2 separate regions of the Homo sapiens genome follow, and region 2 is linked to region 1. The links are contacts of gene promoters, found by promoter capture Hi-C in human tissues and cell types (Jung and others, 2019). All regions are on one chromosome and are shown on one strand. The core of a region is centred on a gene start or on the middle of the fragment in contact, and the rest is flanking DNA. Distances in the headings are between cores, read along the strand shown. Region 1 holds the start of GRHL3 (grainyhead like transcription factor 3). Region 2 overlaps RCAN3AS (RCAN3 antisense RNA).

Region 1 (6,088 bases), core at 290-2,789:
TACAGATGAGGATTAAGGGACTTGCTCAACATCACACAGCTATAAGTGCTAGAGCTGGGACTTGAACCCAGGTGTCAGTACCAATGCTCCTGCTCTTATTCTCATTGCGGTCCAATTGTCAATACATTGTCAACCCCGGGAAATTCATTCAAAAGAAATGTGCCTGTTAACCCAAGTGATTGTGCTGTGAACATGAAGAGCTGAAGGGCTAGCTAGAACATAGAATCCGGTCTGCAGTCAGGACCTAGCACTGCTGTCTGCCCACAGATCTTCAAGTTCTTAAAAGTCTGTTGAGGAGCAGTTAGAAAAAAGATGGTACAATCCTTGCCTCTGCCCACTCACCTCTGAGGGTGGCAGGAAAAGGAGAGCCTGTGTTTAAAGGATTCTGGCTTCTCCTGCCAGCTCCCTGAACCCAATCTAAAGCAGCCCAGATCCCAGCCTCACCCTACCTTCTCTAAGGTCTGGACCCCAAGAAGGACATCATGGTGAAGATCAGCATCAGTCAGTCAGGATCTTAAATCTCAGATGTGGGCAGGAAGGCACATGCATCCTCCCAGCCAAAAGAGGTGACCTACCAAAAATCACTTCTCATCTTCCCCAGCCTTAGAACTGCCTCTGAATGAGAGGAACCACATTTTACTGAACGCATCTTCAGACCATAGCTTTATGCTAAGCATTTTACAGCATTTATCACACTTAACTCTTTCCAGAATTCTACAAAGCATTCTTGTACCCATTTTCCAGATGAGGAAAATGAAGCCCAGAAAAATTGAATGTCTTGTCTGAGATCACCCAGGGACAGAGCCTGGATTTGAACTTAGGTCAAGCCCACTACAAAGAGTACACATGCTTAACCACCACACTGTAACCTTCCCACTTGGGACTGTTCCAACCCAGCAAACAAGTCCCTTTAGAGAAACCCAACTCTCTGCCTAAGACAGCTCTTAGAACTACCTTAAAGAAGTTCCTTTTGGCAAGAAGATAGAAAGCCTCGATGGGATTGGGGTCGTCTGATTTCCAAGGCCCCTTCAGAGGATCAAAAAGTGGTGCCAGAAACCTTCACAGTTTCAGTCTTGTGTTTCCCTGCCTGGCTCGAAACTGCTCAGCAAAGAGAATGAGAAAAACTATTTTCCCAGGGAAACACTCACCTCTAGCTTGAGACTGGGGCTTGCCTTGACACGCCAAAGTAAGATCGTCAGCCCATTCATTTACCCTTACAAATTGCTCTGTGAATCCCGGTGCCGGCCTCCCCGCTCTTCCCCCTCCAGGAAACCCCATCCAGCCTCCACGCTCTGAGAGCGGCAGGTATCCACCGATGTTTACTCACTCAAGTTCATTCGACATCTTCCTGCTCCCAAGCTCCGACGATCAGCACTGAGGCTCTGCTGACCGCTTGTCTCTAATTCTTGCCTGACACAGACATTCTCTGCCCGGGAAAGTGTTTGATTTATGTTGAGGTTTGGGTGTCGAGATTTTGCTGACAGGTAGGTTCCCAGCAGCGCTGGCGCTGATTGGCTACAGGTACAGGTGCCGGCGACTGGAGGTATACCTCAACAGGTGCAGCTGTTAACTCTTAGCCCGCCGAGGAGGGCGGAGCTATGGGGGACTGGCTGGGTGGAGCTGGCCAATTCCTTCCTTGGTGAGGGGGTGGGGGGTGGAGATGAGGGAGGAGGGATGGAGAAGAAAATGTTGGAAAGAAGCAAGATAACTAGAGGAAAAGTACAGGGACAAACAGATAACTTGGCTTAAAGGAAAACTTGATTCCTGTTTCTAGTCATTGTCCCAGATACCCAGAAACATCCCCACCCCCAAATTTCTTTGCCCCCTCCTTCTGTACCACTGGGGAATTCTCAAAGGAGAGAGCAACTTTTCCCAGGTAGATCTTTGTATAAGTTCCCTTTTTTTCAGTTTCCCCTTTAAGGTAATATTTTTGAATAATCTTTTGCAGTTACTCAAGTGACTTCTTTTGGTTCTTAAAGTAACCTACCGTGGTAGATTTATTATCGCTTCCCCCTTCCTCTTCAACACATATTTTACAGATGAGGGAGGAAATGGAGGCCAGAGAGGCAAAGTGCCTTGCCCAAGGGCACAGCTAGCGAGGTCCCAGCCCAGATCCAATCTGCAGTCATCTCACTCCAAGTCTGGCTGCCCCTTGGGCTGAAGTCAGTGGCCTCAATTCAGTAGACATTCATTGAGCACCCGTTGTGTGCCAGACCCTACTCTGGGTTCTGGAGAAACTGAGGCCAGAAAAAACAGGGGTTACTGTTCTAAAGGAGTTTACAATCTGGGGGGTGTGTGTTGGTGGCAGGGGGTGGGGGAGTAAAGGAGAACAGGCTTTTATTGGGTGTGAAGGGGGTGTGGGCAAGCCACATACCTCTGGTCAGCACAGAAGGGATAGAAAAGTTGAAGGCTCCTCTGAAGCCTCAGCCAGCTGGTCATTTCACAGGCTCCAAGTGCTTCGTTCTGTATTGGGAACTTGGGAGAAATTCAATGCCTGTCAGATGAAGTAATTGTGGAGTAATTGCTGTGAGCTGTCTACTATAAAGAACAAGCTTGGTAAACCCCAGAATATCCACAAACACAAACAGGAGAATGTAAGAGCTTTTTAAAGAGCTTCTTCCAGGATTAGTTTGAAATTAAATCTAAGCCAGAGATCTTGGCATCTTTTTTTCCCTCTCTCTCTTTCTATTCTCCCCTCCCCCACCCTTCCCCTTTTGGCAAATTATCTCTTTGCTGTGTCTTCCTGGAAACCTCAACTTGGCCCACTCCTCTCTCTCTTCTCTGGGAACGGCAAGTGAGGTTTCAGCTACCCCTGCCAATTTATGGAGGTTTTTCAGGGTAAAGTCAGAATTCAAAGGAGCCCTCTTGGGGTGGGGTCAGGGCTCTGGAGAGGGGGTACTGGGTTTGAGAACTCTCAGAGATTGGTTTCTCCCTGGAGGCTGTGTTGGGGGAAGCCCAGGGGACCCTAATAAATAATAGTAAATAATTGCTAATAAAGCCACCTCCTCAGAGCAGCCCTCTTCAGTCACCCTTGTTAATAAAGTAGACATTCAATCACTCTGGATCACACTACTTTTTGTTCTCTGCAGAGCCCTTATGACTTATGATACAATGTAATATGACCTATGATATTTTTCTAATCGTTTATTGTCTTTCTCCCCTTCCTCTGGAATGTAAATTCCATAAGAGCAAAGACTTTGTGTCGCTCACTGTGGAATCTCCAGTGTCTGGCACCTAGTAGGTGCTTCATATACCACAGGCACCGGGCATTGTGCGCCTTTGCATACATTGTGTCGCCTAATCCTTACAGCAACCCTGGGAGATAGACATTTTTGATACCCCCATTTTATAGATGAGGAAACTGAGGTACAGAATACTGAAGTAAACTACTCAAGCTGCAGAGCTAGGCAGTGGTAGAGCTAGAGCTGGGATTTAATCCGAGAGCAGAGCCTGGGTGCCCAACCACTTCACAGAGCTTATTGGTGGCTGAAGGGCTATTTGGTGCCAACTGTAACTGCAAAGCTTATTGCAGTCCAAAGGATGGCACACTCCTCTGTATGTACCTGTCTGCCCACCTCATGGAAGGCTGTGGAGTTTCTGTCAACCGTGTTGCAACCCACAGGTGAAGGGCTGTGGGGTGACTCATGCTGACTGGGCTCAGGGGAGGCTGGGATTCCAGGTGGCGTGTCTGTGCTCGCTGGGGTTTTAAAAATGGGTCCTCTCCCTCTGCCTCTAGGTTTTGCCTCTTTCATCACCCGCACCCATCTTCAGAGATCAGCAGAGACCCAAATCACAGGGCAGAGGGTTTCTACGTCTCCACACACAGGAAGGCTACAGAAGTGTCCCGGATGGGATAGAAGGACCGGTGGTCTGGGCTAGGTAGGCAGGAACGCCATGAGCCAGTTTGCAAGGTCACCAGGCCCCTCAGTAGGAATTATACCTCCCAGGCAGGAGGTACAAGTGCTTTCTAGGCCTTCATCCCAACAACCCAGAGATGCCAGGCCTTTAAAGAGACACTCCCCGTGCTTTGCTGCTGCCCCCTTCCTGCTCCTGTGGGGCTGAGCAAGGCTGGCACCTACTTCCCCTTCATGGATCAGCACAGCTCTTGGTTCCTCTGCAGAGGAGATTTAAAACAGAACAGCTATTCCAAAAAAAAAAAAAAAAAACAAAGTTTAAAAAAACATAAACAGAGACCAGCCAATTACTTGTAACATAATAATTATATCCACAATAATGACAGTAAATAATGAGGGCTGCTGTTTAGTTAGCGTTTGTATTTTGCAAGCACTGTGCTAAGACTTACCTATGTGTTAGGATAGTATTGTTCTGAGACTCACAGGCCTCCTTTCAAATCTCAGCCCAACTAGCTACATGATGTCGGGCAAGTGGCTACAGCTCTTTGAGCCTCAGTTTCCTCACCTGTAAAGTGTATATAAAAATTGTATTCCTCCCTTATGGGGTTATTGTGAGGATTAAAAGATAATGCGTGTGAAGTGCATTATCTGTACCTGGCATCTAGCACTCAATACTTGTTAGAAAAGCCTTTTTTTCCCCCCTTAATTCTCATTTAAATCTAATGAGGAAGATATTAACCTTATTTCACAAGTGAAGAAACAGACTCGGAGGTTAAATGATTTGTTGGAAGTCAAAAGTTAGCTGGGTGCGGTGGCTCATGCCAATAATACCAGCACTTTGGGAGGCCAAGGCAGGCAGATCACTTGAGATCAGGAGTTCGAGACCAGCCTGGCCAACACGGTGAAACCCCGTCTCTACTAAAAAAACAAAAATTAGCTGGGCATGGTGGCATACACCTGTAATCCCAACTACTTGGGAGGCTGAGGCAGGAGGATTGCTTGAACCTGGGAGGCGGAGGTTGCAGTGAACCAAGATCGCGCCACTGCACTCAGCCTGTGCAAACAGATAATGTCAACAACAACAACAACAAAACAAAAGCTAATAAGTTAAAGAATTGAGATTTGAACCCACATCTTTCTGATTCCATTCTTGCAGGACTGGACTAAGTTAGGGAGTGCCCTGCGCTCAAGTTCTGCCTGACCTCTGGCTACTTATTGTGTGACTGAGTAAATTCTCTCCTCTCAGAGTCTCAATTTCCCTCTATAAGAACAGATTAGTGAATCACTATAAGGGGGGAGTTCCCTATTAAAATCATCTTGATTTGCTTTTCTAGATTACTGATGTTCTTTCTCCAGACGTTCTGATCTGCCCTCTTGGAGGACTGCACAGTCCTTCATCCCTCCCCTCCTTTCCACGATCATGCCTGTGCAGAAGCCACTGTTCCCAAAGAGTATGACACTTCTCCTTGGCATGTTGGGGAGGAGTAAAAGTTAGGGCCACTGTAAGTGAGCACTGAGAGCCAGGGCTCCTCTGTGTGTCTGTGAAAGTTGTGTACTGAACAATGACGGCACCATTTACCAGACGGGACATGCGCTGCTGAACATGAGGACCTTGCTGACAGCCGTCCTTTTCTAACACTTGAATGCTTTCTAATTATCCAGAACTCTTAATGCAAATCTGTTGACCTATATTCAAATATTGAAAGAATATATACCCACATGTCAACAGTGCTTCTCTGTGGGCACTGAAATACCAGGATTTCAATCTTTTCTCCGTCTTCCCCCAAACGGGCTACATTGAACTTGCACTGCTTTTGTAATTAGAAATTCTATACAAAGCCCCAGTTTAAATGTCATTAAACCAAAATAATTTCCCATTGACAAATGGCCATTGTGTCCCTATCCTTCCTGGGACAAGGGCAGGGATGAAGAGAGTGAAGACTGAGTCCTTGCCCAGTGATCCCCTGGGAGGCACAGGAATGGAGACGGGGGGGCTGTCTGGCTTGCAGGGGGGCTGTCTGGCTTGCAGGCTCTCAGCAGCGAGCTCAGCTATCTGATCTCATTTTGATTTTGCAATTAAAATTACTATCATTTATTGAGCACTTAACGCCATAATGCTAGCTGTAGATGCTCTATCCCATTCCTACCTGTAAAATGGGGTCACATGGTTGGCCAAGTTACTAAAGAACGTCAGCTTTGAGGGTGACTGCCTGAGGCCTTGGACAAGCAACTTC
Region 2 (6,811 bases), core at 1,819-4,318, 180 kb before region 1:
AGACAATGCCACAGATCCCGAGTAGCACACCTCTTGCCTTTTAGGAGAATTTCCAGACCAGCGATTTCATTTCAGATTTTCTTATTCCAGATTTTCTTATTCTTATTTGAGTAGATTTAACAGTAAATATCCTAACAAATCCTTATTAGGTTTGTTTTGGGTTTGTGCTATGAAAATGATACAAGTGGCAAAAGATCTCCATCTCACATGCATACATTAGTAGTGGAATGTAAAAGGATGCAACTGATTTTTGGAAACTGCCAGTTTATCAAGCTAAACGTACACCTACCCTATGACCCAGAAATTCCACTCCTAGATGCAGACTCAAGAGAAATGTAGGGAAATGTCTACCAAAAAAGAGGCTGGTACAAGAATGCTCTTAACATCTTGGCCGGGTGAGGTGGCTCACGCCTCTAATCCCAGCAATTTGGAGGCCAAGGTGGGTGGATCAGTTGGGGTTAGGGTTTGAGACCAGCCTGGGCAACATAATGAAACCCTGTCTCTACTAAAAATACAAAAATTAGCCAGGTGTGGTGACGGGTGCCTGTAATCCCAGTGACTTGGGAGGCTGAGGTGGGAGAATGGCTTGAACCCGAGAGACAGAGGTTGCAGTGAGCCGAGATTGTGTCACTGCATTCAAGCCTGAGCAAAAGAGACTCCCATCTCAAAAAAACAAAAACAAATCAACAACACAAAATATTTAATCATACTATTCTCCAACTGTAAATATCCCAAATGTCCACAAGAGGAATGGATAAGAAAACCATGGTATATTCAAACAATATAATACTACACAGCAATAAAAAAAAATCATGAAATGTTGATACACATAACAACGGATAAATCTCAAAAGCAATTGTTGAGCAAAAGAAGTCAAAACGCATAGATGTATGATTTCATTTATATGAAAGTCAAGAAGAGGCAAAACTAATGTAATAAGCATGAGAATAGTGGTTGCTTCTGAGGGTAGGGATTAATTGGAAAGGGGCACAGAACATTCAGGGGTTATGGAAATGTTCTTCCCATGCCAGTATGTTTGCCAGACATGGTTCTAGGCATTGGGAATATAGCAGTGAACAAAACAGACCTAGTCCCTGCTTTTGTACAAATCCATCTCAGTTCTTTTAATTGGTTGCATTGTTTAATGCATTTTAAATAAGAAAAATGTGGCCTTTCTTTAAATATAGTCTATGACAAATCTGAGGAGCTTTCTTGCTTCGTTTTCAGTTGCTGATGGGAAGGCAGAAAAGTACAATGGAAAGAGTATGGGCTCCAGGAAGTCAGCGCTACCACTGACTGGCTGTGTGATTTTTGGGCAAGTTCTTTAAACCTGTGAAGCCTTACTTTTCTCATCTGTTAAGTGGATTTTTTAAATTATTTTTATAATTTACAAGCAAGGTCTCGCTTTTGTTGCCCAGGATGGTCTCAAACTCCTGGGCTCAAGCGACCCTCCAACCTCAGCCTCCCAAAGTTAAATAGAATTGATGATACCGCCTTGCAAAGTTGTTTTGTAAAGTGCCAGACACATTGCAGATGCTCGGGAAACATGAGCTGGTTTATAATCAGTTTACAAGGAAAATTTTACTTTTGCCCAGTGAGATATAAGCAGAGGGAGGCTGACTTGGCTGGCAGAGGTACCCTTTTGTTTTTTTTTTTTTGTTTTTTGTTTTTTTTTGAGATGGAGTCTCACTCTGTTGCCCAGGCTGGAGTGCAGTGGCACAATCTAGGCTCACTGCAACCTCTGCCTCCTGGGTTCAAGCAATTTTCCTGTCTCAGCCTCTTGAGTAGCTAGGATTATAGGCATGTGCCACCATGTCTGGCTAATTTTTGTATTTTTAGTAGAGACAGGGTTTCACCATGTTGGCCAGGCTGGTCTCGAACTCCTGACCTTGTGATCTGCCCATCTCAGGCTCCCAAAGTGCTAGGATTACAGGCGTGAGCCACCACGCCCAGCCCAACCTTTTGCTGTTCTTTCTTCTAGCCTGCAATGTGAACACGATGGCTGGAGCTCCGGCAGCCATTCTGGACCAGGAGGTAGCCTTGAAGATGGAAGCCACATGTTGGGATGGTGAATCCAAAAGATGAGGAGCCTGTATCCCCTGTGACACCAGAACTGCCATACCAGCCCTGGGTTCCTCCATCTATACTGCCTTCATATGGTAAAGAAATATTCTTGGATCTTGTTAGGTGTCTGTTGCAGCCAAACACAATCCCAACTGATATTCACTGTAAATGATTCCATGGCTCCCTGTAGTACTTCTACAAAGCATCTATCACAATTGTAATTAATAAAATAATTATGCAATTACTGGTTTAATGCCTAAGTCCCAAGTAGAATATCAGTTCCATGGGGGCAGGGATTAGTCTGTTCATGGATGTATTCCCAGCTCCTGTAACAACATCTGGTTCTGGTAGGTGGTAAGTGCACAATAAATGTAGCAGAGTGAAAGGTTGAGAGGAAACGGAGCTGCTTCTGATGAGGAGAGAAATCACTGCATATCGATCGATCTCTATCTCAGACTCATTAATATGCATCTGGGTGTGCTGGATATTTTAATTCATGTTCTACCACACTCTAGATCTCCTATGGGATTTGCATCACAGATGGTACCTTTTCCTGAAGAGCCTTAAATTAACCTGCCTCCCTGGTAACACCCTCATTTGTCTCCCATTCCTGGCAAGTCAGCCATTCCCCCAAGAAGAGAGTTGCAACACGATCCAATAGTTTGCTGGAGGAGTGAAACTTATCAGCCCCACATCCAACATTGGTTGGGAGATGAGTCATGTCGATTTTTGATATTTAAAATTTTCTCATAAAAATTGGACTTGGCTTTTATAGAACATTTGAAAACAAAAAGATAAATTAAAAAATTCAAATCACGTACAATCCCAGGATCCAGAGATAGTCATGTGCAAGGAAAATATCTTGGGTCCCCCAAATCACTAAGCCAAAGGGAAAAATCAAGCTGGGAACTGCTCAGGGCAAACCTGCTTCCCATTCTATTCAAAGTCACCCTTCTGCTCACAGATAGATGTATATCTGATTGCATCCTTTGGAGAGGCTAATCAGAAACTCAAAGGAATGCAGCCATTTGTCTCTTACCTACCTATGACCTGGAAGCCCCTTCCCCGCTTCAAGTTGTCCTGCCTTTCCGGACCAATCAGTGTTCATCTTACATATGTTGGTTGATGTCTCATGACTCCCTAAAATGTATAAAACCAAAGTGTGCTCTGACCCACCTTGGGCACACGTTGTCAGGACCTCCTGAGGCTGTGTCATGGGCATGTGTCTTCAACCTTGGCAAAATACTTTTTTTTTTTTTTGAGATGGAGTCTCACCCTGTCGCCCAGGCTGGAGTGCAGTGGCGCAATCTCGGCTCACTGCAAGCTCCGCCTCCTGGGTTCAAGCTATTCTCCTGCCTCAGCCTCCCGAGTAGCTGGAAATATAGGTGCCCGCCACCACGCCCGGCTAATTTTTTTGTATTTTTAGTAGAGACGGGGTTTCACCGTGTTAGCCAGGGTGGTCTCGATCTCCTGACCTCGTGATCTGCCTGCCTCAGCCTCCCAAAGTGCTGGAATTACAGATGTGAGCCACCACGCCCGGCCCAACCTTGGCAAAATAAGCTTTCTAAATTAACTGAGAACTGTCTTAGATTTTTGGAGTTCAGAGTCACTATTCAATATTTTAGTATACAGTGTTTCTCTCCAATTTTTTGGGTAAGATTAGTATACCATTAGAATCAGCCAATTTGGATCTCTTACCTATTTCACTTAACATATTGCAAACATTATCTTGTGCTTTAAAATACTATTTAATTTTTAATGACTACATAATATTGCATTGTGTTATTTATCTAATTATTTCCTTATTGTTGTAATCAAAGTTTCATTCCAATTTTCTCTTACATAATTAACCATACGATGAATACCTTTATATGTAAAATATGCTGTTGCATTTATGATTATTTCCTCAGCATAGATTCCCAGAAGCAGTTACTAGGCAAGGGGCATGAACATTTAAAAAAACTCTTACTGGAAAATGACAAAATGCATTTCAAAAAGGTTGTTACTCTATTTAATTATAAATGCCTTTCCTGATTGATAGGCAAAAAACAAAAACAAAAACCTCCCCAAACATGACATCTTGATTTTTCACAAATGCTTCATTTGAGATCTGCCCAAGTTCTCTGTGCATTCTTCCACTGAGCTATTAGCATCGTTTGTTTATAAAAACATCTTATACACTGTGGATAGTAACCCTGTGATTACATTTGTTGAAAATTTTCTCTTCATAATTTCCCTTTCGAAAATTCTTTTTGATATAAAGATGTTTTAAAAATTTTATTTGGCCAGGCGTGGTGGCTCATGCCTGTAATCCCAACAATTTGGGAGGCCGAGGCAAGAGGACTGCTTGGGTCCAGGAGTTGGAGATCAGCCTGGGTAAACACAGTGAAATCTTGTCGCTACAAAAAATAAAAAAATTGGCTGGGTGTGATGGCACACACCTTTGCTCCCAGCTACTCAGGAGGCTGAGGTGGGAGCATCGCTTGAGCCCAGGAGGTCAAGGCTGCAGTGAGCCATGATTGCACCACTGTACTCCAGCCTGGGTGACAGTGTTTTGAGACCTTGTCTCAAAACAAACAAAAAACCCATATAATCCTACCACTTTGGGAGGTCCAGGAGGGAGAATCACTTGAGCCCAGGGGTTCAAGACCACCCTGGGCAACATGGCAACCCCTCAATCTTTACCAAAAAAAAAAAAATTAGCCTGGGCATAGTGGCAGGCACCTGTGGTCCCAGCTACTCAAGAGGCTGAGGTAGGAGGATCACTTGAGCCCAGGAAGGTTGAAGCTGCAGTGAGCTGTGATCACACTGCTGCACTCCAGCCTGGGTGACAGGGTGAGATCCTCAGAAAACAATTATTTGTATACAGTGTATTCATCTTGTACTTTATGATCTCTTAGCTTGCTGAAGTCTGATTAATCATGACCTTTCTTTTTTTGGAGACAGGGTTTATCAAGATGTAACACCATGTAAGTCAAGGTAAGCCTCAAACTTAAATACTATTTCCAGTGGTTCTAACATTAATAATTAAAGAACCCACTGCTTCATATATATACAATTTACTATAGATGCTCCTTGACTTATGATGGGTTATGTTCTGATAAATCCATTGTAAGTTGAAAATATCGTTAAGTCATAAGTGTATTTATTTATTTAGAGATGCAGTCTCGCTCTTTTACCCAGGCTGGAGTGCAGGGGTGTGACCTCGGCTTAGTGCAACCTCTGCCTCCTGGGTTAAGTGACTCTCCTGTCTCAGCCTCCCGAGTAGCTGGGACTACAGGCACATACCACCACACCAGGCTAATTTTTGTATTTTTAGTAGAGACGAGGTTTCACCATGTTGGCCACGCTGGCCTTGAACTTCTGACCTCAAGTGATTCACCCGCCTCGGCCTCCTAAAGTGCTGGGATTGCAGGTGTGAGCCACCTTGCCCAGCCCATAAATGTATTTAATACCATATACGTAACCTAGTAAACATCATAGCCTACCCGAAGCATGCTCAGAGCACTTACGTTAGCCTACAGTTGGGCAAAATCATCTAACACAAAGTCTATTTTATGAAGTGTTGGATAGCTCATGTAACTTATTGGTGATGGTACTGAAAGTGAAGGCAGAATAGTTGTGTGGGTACTCAAAGTACAGTTTCTACTGAATGCGTTATGTTTTCACACCATTGCAAAATGGAAAAATTGTAAGTTGAACTATCAAAAATTAGGGACCTGGGCAGGGCGTGGTGGCTCCCACCTGTAATCCCAGCACTTTGGGAGGCTGAGGCAGGCAGATTGCTTGAGTCCAGGAGTTTGAGACCAGCTTGGGTAACTTGCTGAAACCCCATGTCTACTAAAGACACACACACACACACACACACACACACACACACACAAACTAGTCAGGCATGGTAGCATGTGCCTGTGGTCCCAGCTCTTAGGAGGCTGAGGTGGGAGGATCACTGGGGAGGTGAAGCTTGCAGTGAGCCACTGAGCTCCAGCCTGGGTGACAGAGTGAGACCCTATCTCAATAAAAAATTTAAAAAAAGAAAATTGAAGATTGAATATATAAGAACATACTACATATGTATTTCCGGATGATTTATTCTGTTGCATTGATCTAGCTGTTAATAGAAATGGTTTTATTATCTGGAAGGGAATGTTGGTACACATATTTCCAAATACTTTTCAGAAAGGTTGTATCAATTTCTACCTGCCTCCTCCCAGCCCCCGCCCCCGCCTCGACTCTGCCCCCTTTCCACAATCTCACCAAAGCTGCAGGCATTTTCCTTGAAAGTCTTCACATCTTCAGAACACTCGGGCTCCCATCCTGCTCGCGCTACTAACTACAAGTGGCTGTTTAACATCGAGCAAACCTCACATTCTTTAAGCCTGGCTCTCTTCAGCTCAGTGGAAATAAGTGGTACTGCCCTTCTAAGATGGTTTGGGGGCTCAAATGAACCGTTTGTGACAGCACCTAGAAAAGTATAAACTTTCAATAACAAGGTTGGCAATCAGTAACTATTGCATTTTCATTAAAAAGAAACATGTCTTAAAAAAAAAAAAAGACACTCTTGCATAATTTTGAAGATCGGGCATGGAAATATGTCTTCAGCATGTTTGCAAGCCTGGATGCTGGGTGAGATTTCATCTTGCAGTGTTGCTCTAAATTAGAAAGACTCAATCCCATTTGCCCAAAGATTCGGAAGCTGCTGAATTAACTACAGATCCGTTATCTTCGAGGGCATCAGTACTTACGG

The links. Contacts are between HindIII fragments. The study calls those that stand out against the background at their distance.
Region 2: a fragment that was not itself captured here is called in contact with the fragment with the promoter of GRHL3 in region 1 in 1 of the 25 tissues and cell types used here (thymus).

What each region holds. Positions count from the first base shown.
Region 1 is chr1:24,314,808-24,320,895 of GRCh38, reverse strand. GRHL3 (grainyhead like transcription factor 3) reads right to left here and starts at 1,539. Exons shown (of 16, transcript NM_198173.3): 1 at 1,328-1,539. The coding sequence starts at 1,344. All of the region lies in intron 1 of GRHL3-AS1 (GRHL3 antisense RNA 1), which reads left to right. The HindIII fragment of the contact is 14,571 bases long and covers 1-3,037 here.
Region 2 is chr1:24,491,767-24,498,577 of GRCh38, reverse strand. RCAN3AS (RCAN3 antisense RNA) reads left to right here. Exons shown (of 2, transcript NR_144360.1): 2 at 1,982-2,324. Among named protein-coding and RNA genes, the nearest start is that of RCAN3AS, 7.2 kb to the left of the region's middle. The HindIII fragment of the contact is 3,516 bases long and covers 1,311-4,826 here.